2 separate regions of the Homo sapiens genome follow, and region 2 is linked to region 1. The links are contacts of gene promoters, found by promoter capture Hi-C in blood cells and fetal thymus (Javierre and others, 2016). All regions are on one chromosome and are shown on one strand. The core of a region is centred on a gene start or on the middle of the fragment in contact, and the rest is flanking DNA. Distances in the headings are between cores, read along the strand shown.

Region 1 (3,753 bases), core at 663-3,162:
AGGAGAGGAACTTGCTTCCTTCTAAGGGGTGTGGAAAGTTGGAGAATAAAAGAGCCTCGTGGGATAGGGGGCAGTGATGCCAAGTGCTATTTATGGGCTATTTATGGGCCACCAGAGATTGAACTGCCTGTGGGGAGAAGGATCCAGAAGGGACTCTGGGTAGCAGAAATATCTGAGATGGAGTTTTACCTTTTTTGATGTGGAGTGAGTGAAGAGAGCCTCCTCTTTTACTTTCCTTAAGAAATCTTCAGTCCAGTATACGTTATACATTAATTAAGTTGGTATTTTGAGTGTGTTGCTTTTCGGGGTATGTAGAAGAGAGGCTGAATTCTCATTTGGCTTGATGTTGGAATCAGGAACAGTCAACTTTGATACGGGGCACAAGAGCGGGCCATAGCTGATACCCTGGTTTCTCTGTCTGGGCCTGGCCTATCTTGTGGCTGGGTGCACACCTGCTTTATTTTTTACTTGAAATGTCTTCTTTTTCCACCTGTCCTACTCATGTCTTCAAAGCCTAATTTTCATTTTCCCTGATCACTCCACCTCCTCTCTGCCCTCATTCATTCATTAGTGACTACAGGCTGGAGATGCCAATTTCAGGGCTTCTGCCCTAAGCCCCCAAGGGAGCTGTGTGCTTCTTGAGTGCAGATACTTTGTTTCACTCTTCCCCACTCTACCCCCCAAACCAGAAGAACAGAGCTCCTGTTTCTTCCTTTCCATGGTAGGCCCAACACCTGGCTTTGTGCCTGGCACACAGCAGACATTCAACATTTGTAGAACTGATAGACTATTAGATTAGTAGTGACAAATACTCCCCGAAGAAAATGCTTATTTGAACATACATCCCAAATTTTCTGCCCTCCAGAAAATGCTTCCTTGGAAGGATTTAAGACAGTTTGATGTCTCTGCAAACATTATCTGCGTTTAGGGACCAACTTGCCCTTCTCAGCGTTCACCTGGGATGTCTTTATTCTTCCATTTAACCTTTACAGGGGACCCCGATGGTGACGTGTCCTTCCTAGGGGCCATTACCTCTCTCAGGGATCCTAGTGTCTGGTAGAAAACAACAGCTCCAAGTTCTCTGCATCCAAACTTCGCCAGGATACGCAGATAAACCTATTTAAAAAAAAAAATCTTTTTAAATTCTCAACTTGGTGGTGTAAATAAGGCCCTTGCAGCGCCCTCAAGTAATAATCAACGGCAGTCATTATGGAAGGAGGGTAGAGATGAGCGCCTTACTCAAAGCCAAGACATTCACAATTTCTCGGGCCGGCTGCCTGTGCCTGGGCGTGTGCACTGTGCACTCCGAAGCTGTGTGCGGCGGTGGCCTTGGAGGTGCGCGTGGCCTTAGGAATTCCCGCGGTCGGGCACCCTCCGCTTAACACCGGGCCGTGTCCCCGGCCTGGGAGCCGAGCAGCGCGGCTCTGGCATGCTAAGTGGGCAGCACTGGGGCGCCTTTGTTCCTCGCGGCCGTCTCCCAGGACCGGCTTCCCTCTGAATCTAAATGGGCTTCTCCCTCACCCGCTCCGCCCTGGCCTCCTGGCCTGGGCACGGCGCCCCTGGGTAAAGCGCGCCCGGACACCTGGGGCGTGGGCGTGCGGGGGCAGCCCGGGCTAGGCGAGCGCGGGAGAGGCGCCTGCGGTCCCAGCCCGGCCAGGCCCGAGCACCTGCGCGAGCCCGAGGGAGCGCCCGGCCCTCTGCCCCCGCCAGTCGCCGGCGCCCAACTTGGGGGTCCCGCCGTCCGCAGCCCCAAGTCTCGCGGTGCTACCGCTCTGACCGGGGAGCCGCGGGCCGGGCGCCCCCCGCCGCGCGACAAAGGCTGAACCGGGAGGAGGAGGCCGAGGAGGGGGAGGAGGAGGAGAGAAAGGCGGGGACGGCGAGCGGCCGCGGCGGCGGGGAGAGCGGAGGGAGCGCCGCCCGCCCGCGCCGTCCTTTGTGTGGCGGCGGCGGCGCCTGGGCCTGACCGGGTCCCCGGGGCTGAGCGCCGGGCTCCGCGCCGCCCCTCCCGCGCCCCTGCCAAGCGGGCGCCTATCCTCTCCGAGCAAGATGGCAACCCCGGCGGCGGTCAACCCTCCGGGTGAGTAGCGGCCTGGGCCCCGCCGCCCGCCGCAGCCCGCAGGCCTTGCCCGGGGCCGGAGCGGACCAGGCGCGCCGGGCGCCCCCGGGGGCGCGGAGCCGCAGCTCGGCGCGGTGGGTGGTGGAGCGGCTGTCACTACGCGGCAGCCGCAGCATCAGCACCAGAGCGGCATCTGCATCCCAATCGCTGCCCATCCGGTCCCGGGCAGGCGCCGGTCCGGACCCGCGGGCGGCCGGACGCTGGCCTCGCATCCTCGGGAACCCGAAGGGCAGGCCCGGGAGCCCCCGAAGTTCTGAAAATAACCGCCTTTGCCTTCCCCATCCCACGCATTTTTCTCTTCCGGTCCCGGCTTTTGTGGCATCACGGCGTCAGCCAGTCCTGGCTGGTGGAGGGCTCCGCGCTGACGGAGGGAAAAGTTTGGAGCTGGGATTCAACAGGGTACAACTCCCGGGACTCTCCCCTGCCCGCCCCGCCCACTAAGCGCTGGTCCTTTGCGCCCTTTGCGACTGGCTGCTGTGTGTCCTAACCCTCCGGGGGCACAAAACACCCAGCCTGTGGTCACCAGCGTGGAGCAGCCCTGGTCCTGCCCAGGTGACATCCTCTGCTTTCTGGTCTGACCTGTCCCCAGGGTGCAGTCTGTGACAACTGAGCTCATTAGGAAATATTTCAAAAATGGAAGAGTTCTTGATCAAGTGGCAACATTGACTTGTTTTGGTATTGTAGTAGGGAAGTTCCGTTTTCACTGGGAAAGTTCCCTACCTGATGAGCAGGGTGTGGGAGAAGAGAAACGTGAACATCTAAGCTAGTACAAACTTTTGGGTGTTGTGCAGAGGCTGCTGTGGGCACGGCAGGTTGCTGGGTCCCTGTGGAAGATGCAGGGAGAGTCACAGAGGGCGGCCCCCAGGAAATTCCCAGCAGAGGGAGGTCATGTGTTGGAGATAGGGAGGGTCGGGGGAGGAACAGCAATGCCTAGCAAAGAAAAGTGTCTCTCATCATAGAATTAGGAATGAAAGATCCCTTTCATCTAAGGCGGCCAGGGAAGGCTTCTGGAGATTGGACATTTCGGCTGAACCTTGAAAACGGGAATGTTTGAATATACAGAGCCAGTAGCAGAGGGGCATTGCAGGCGTAAGTAACAGTGGACTTGCTCTAAGCAAGTGCAGAGGTCAGTGAGTAGTTGGTGCACTGGGGATATAAGAGGCAGCAGTGGGATTTAACACTGAGTTGTTTGGATGTGACCAGGCTTTAAAGGACAGACTGAGGAGTATGGACTTTCTCTCTCCACATTAAGGGAGAGTCCTCTGCACACTTCCTAAGAACCAGAAAAATAAAATAAAATAGAAAAGAGAGAGAGAGACAGAGAGAGAGAGAGAGAGACCTCAATGGTATTGAACAAGGAAATCGCATGATCACTTTTTCTGGAAGACTGATTTGTCAGCTATGTCTAGGAAACATTCTAAGGAGGGAACAAGACTTGAGACAGGGAGGCCAGCATGAAATGAGGCAGGTGCTGGGGAGGCCAGAATTGGTGGCCATGGCTGGACCAGAGAGGAAGGAATGCACCACTGGGCGGGTAGAAGAGTTCCAGATTTGGCACTGATTAGATTTGGAGTAAGAGTAAAGGAGGAGGCCAAGGAGAGACAAAGGGGAGGTGTCCATGGAGACACCAAGGTGAA
Region 2 (3,892 bases), core at 232-2,731, 560 kb after region 1:
ACCCAAATGTCCATCAATAATAGACTGGATAAAGAAAATGTGGCACATACACACCATGGAATACTATGCAGCCATAAAAAAGGATGAGTTCATGTTATTTGCAGGGACATGGATGAAGCTGGAAACCATCATTCTCAGCAAAATATCACAAGGACAGAAAGCCAAACACTGCATGTTCTCACTCATAAATGGGAGCTGAATAATGAGAACACATGGACACAGGGAGGGGAGCATCACACACCAGGGCCTATTGTGGGGTAGGGGACTGGGGGAAGGATAGCAATAGGAGAAATACCTAATGTAAATGATGAGTTGATGGGTGCAGCAAACCAACATGGAACGTGTATACCTATGTAACAAACCTGCACGTTGTGCACATGTACCCTAGAACTTAAAGTATAATAATAAAAAAAAAGAAAAGAAAAAACAAATTGGCTAAATTGAGGTATAGCCTCCTCCCCAAAATAAAGATTAAAAATGATTATTAAAATGTTGATAATTATTAGAACTGGGTGACAAGGAATGGTGACCCACTCTATTTTTTGTGTGTACATTTAAGATATTTCCATGATAAAGTTTTTGAAAGTTAGAAATAACCATTTTAGAAAATACTTAGCATAACCAATCAAGAACTTTAAAAGAATCATCATCATTTTTTTTTTTGGACCTACTAATTACATACATATCTGGGGATTTAGCCTAATGAAATAGAGCATGGGTATGAAGATGCTCATTGTAGCATTATTTATAATGACTTGACAGGTTCAAATAACCTAAATGTTCATCTACACAGAAATGACCAAATAAATTATGGCCTCATTTGATGAACTATTATACCTCATCAAAATAATATTTACAAAGGGTTTGTAATAACAAACTACTCATTTGCAGAGCCAGTGGCAGAGGCCCTTTGGTTTCTGAAAGTCACAGAGTATTACAGACAGAGAGACCTGAGAGCTCAACGGGCCCAGTGCTCCCCATATTAGAGGTGTGTTCACACACACATGTGCACACACACACAAACCAAGCTTCCACCCCTCCTGCTGTGCCACTGCCCCCAGCTTCCAGGCTGCCTCTGTGTCCACTCATGCCTGCTCAAATCTCAGCTTAGTGGCCACCTGCTCCAGGAAGCTTTTCTCTGGCCTCCCTTGGAAAATCCCTCTGTTGCAAGCTACAAGCACCTTGCATAGTTGCCACTGTACACTGTGGGTGTGTGTATTTGATTCAGGCCCTCTTCTTCCATACCCTGCTGCCTCTCTGCTCCACAACCTTTGCACCTCTTCTCTTCCTCCTGATTCTGCATCTCAAAAGCCCAAATAACTGGCTTGAAGTGGCCAACTCCTCCTTATTGGGCAGTTCCGCTGGTTAAATTCCTCTGGGAAATGCTGGCCCATTCCAACTGAGGCCCATCGAGGTGATGCGCTCAAGGCATTGATTTTAAAACTAGAAGTAGAAGCCCTTGGCCGGGCGCAGTGGCTCACTCCTGTAATCCTAGCACTTGGGAGGCTTAGGTGAGCAGATCACCTGAGGTCAGGAGTTCGAGACCAGCCTGACCAACATGAAGAAACCCCCGCCTCTACTAAAAATACAAAATTAGCTGGGCATGGTGGTGCATGCTTGTAATCCCAGCTACTTGGGAGGCTGAGGCAGGAGAATCACTTGAACCCGGGAGGTGGAGGTTGTGGTGAACCGAGATCACACCATTGCACTCCAGCCTGGGCAACAAGAGTGAAACTCCATCTCAAAAAAAGAAAAAGAAAAAAGAAAAGAAAAGAAGTAGGAGCCCTCAGGGAGTTTTAATTTAGAGCAAGGACCTCAGAGAATTTGTAAGGAAGCTTCTATCCTAAGGGAGTCAGGGACCTCCTTTGCATTAGAATAAGGATCCCTATTGTCTTGTTTCTTCCAGACCCTGGCATGTAAATCCCAGGCCTGGCAGGACTTGCCACCCTGTTTATAGAAGAGGTAAGGCCCAGGGAAAGCAAGTATGGCACTCAATGTCGTCCAACTTGGAGCTGAGGTAGGAGGCATGGATCAAAGGGGCCCCAGTGTTTCTAGGCCTATGGCTGAAGCTCTCTCCTGCAGGAAGAATGCGGGCTGGCCTGAAAAACAGATGCAAGGCAGACCAGATGTCCCTGGGCATTCTTCACATTCCACCAACTGCAGCCCTCCTTGGCTGAGAGCTGCCAAGTCTGGGCTTCCAATTCATCAGCTTGGAAACTTCACCTCAGAAACTTCGGCAGACTTCTCTGGAGAAAACAAAAATTGCCCTAGGTCTGCCAGGGAACAGTGGTCAAAGATTTAAAATTGCAAGTTGGGCTGCTGAGATCCAGAATTTGACAAGCCCAGGTTTAAGCTGATTCAACAAGATCTATGGAGAGTTGGCCAAGTGGCCCCAACTGCAGGCTCAGGTTTTCCCAGATGCTGGATCAAGTGGAAAGGGGTCCAACATCTCAAGTTTCTGGCTTGTGACACTTGCGTGGGACCTCCTGAAATCTGCCTACCAAAAATTTCCTTGTACCAGCAAGCAGCATGGTCAAACTGCAGTCTCCTGCAGACCGCTTGGACTCTGGCAGCTCTGCCCCTTTCAGGGCAAACCATCTCACCTGAGAGCAGGTCCTCAGCCATGCAGGTATCTGAGAGCAGAGCACCAAGGTGGTGGGAACGGCAGATGTTTCTGCCTGGAAGGAAGCTGACCCGCTCTGCTCTGGCATACCCTACACTGGGCAAGGTGGCCATTCTCCTTCTGGAGCAATCTCTGTGGCCCATGTAGAATTCCATCCCAGCCCCTCCCTTAGAGTGTCAAGCCACAGTGAAAACTGCAGTGCCTCCAGAAGAAAACAGCCCAGGCAGGATGTTATCCTGCCTTCTCCTAGCTGTGACTCTCAGCAAGGGGCTTAACCCCTACAAGCTTCTGTCTAGTCACCTGAAGCACAAAACACACACACAAATGATAATAGTTAACATGTACTGAAAGCTCTGTTGGCCAGGCACAGTGGCTCACACCTGTACTCCTTTGGAAGGCCAAGGTGGGAGGATCGCTTGAGCTCAGGAGTTTAAGACCAGCCAAGGTAAAATAGTGAGACCCCACCTCTTTACTTTAAAAATAAAATAAAAAAGAAAGCTGTGTTAAGTGCTTCACAGGGACTTGCTCATTTAATCCTTATAATACTTCTCTGAAATGGGAACTTTTATTAGCACCTACAGGCTTAGATGAGTGAGGTCCTTAAATAACTTGTCCAACATGATACAGCTAATAAAATGCAGAGCTGGGAAGTCCAACACCAGAACTGTGCTTCAAAGGGCCACATAGTAAATGTTAACTAATACCAACCTTGTGGGGTTGTGAAGGGTAAATGAGGTCGGGCACAGTGGTTCACACCTGTAATCCCAACACTTTGGGAGGTCAAGGTGGGAGGATTGCTTGAACCCAGGAGTTCAAGACCAGCCAGGGCAACATAGGGAGACCCTGTCTCTACAAAAAATATTAAAAAATTAGCTGGGTGTGATGGTGCACACCTGTGGTCCCAGCTACCCAGGAGATTGAGGTGGGAGGACCACTTGAGCCTGGAGGTCGAGGCTGCAGTGAGCTGCCATCGTGCCAGTGCACTCCAGCGTGAGCAACAGAGTGAGACCCTAACTGAAAATAAAATGAGAGTAAATGAAATAAAGTATGTAAAGACCTGCACACAGTGGGTAGCATGTCACAGTTAGGTAAGGATGTCCAGAGCTTGCACACAGTAGGCACACTCCATGCTGAAAGACATTGTGTGTCTTTTAATATTCAACCTGTAAATACCAAGAAGGCAGGGACCTTGCCTGCCTTGCTATCTTTATCTCCACTGCCTGCACACTTCCCGAAACTTATTGGTGTTCAGCACTTACATGGGGAGTG

The links. The method cuts DNA at HindIII sites, captures the fragments that hold promoters and counts their contacts. A CHiCAGO score of 5 or more calls a contact.
Region 2: a fragment that was not itself captured here is called in contact with the fragment with the promoter of ARNT2 in region 1 in 1 of 17 cell types (M0 macrophages); the score reaches 5.1 in M0 macrophages.

The regions. Positions count from the first base shown.
Region 1 is chr15:80,402,470-80,406,222 of GRCh38, forward strand. It overlaps ARNT2 (aryl hydrocarbon receptor nuclear translocator 2), which reads left to right and starts at 1,913. Exons shown (of 19, transcript NM_014862.4): 1 at 1,913-2,077. The coding sequence starts at 2,047. ARNT2-DT (ARNT2 divergent transcript) reads right to left here and starts at 1,727. Exons shown (of 6, transcript NR_184070.1): 1 at 1,522-1,727; 2 at 1,033-1,116. RefSeq lists an enhancer at 1,344-1,844. The HindIII fragment of the contact is 4,789 bases long and covers 1-3,753 here.
Region 2 is chr15:80,965,550-80,969,441 of GRCh38, forward strand. It overlaps a transcript of MESD not described here. Among named protein-coding and RNA genes, the nearest start is that of MESD, 22 kb to the right of the region's middle. RefSeq lists an enhancer at 1,053-1,568. The HindIII fragment of the contact is 704 bases long and covers 1,130-1,833 here.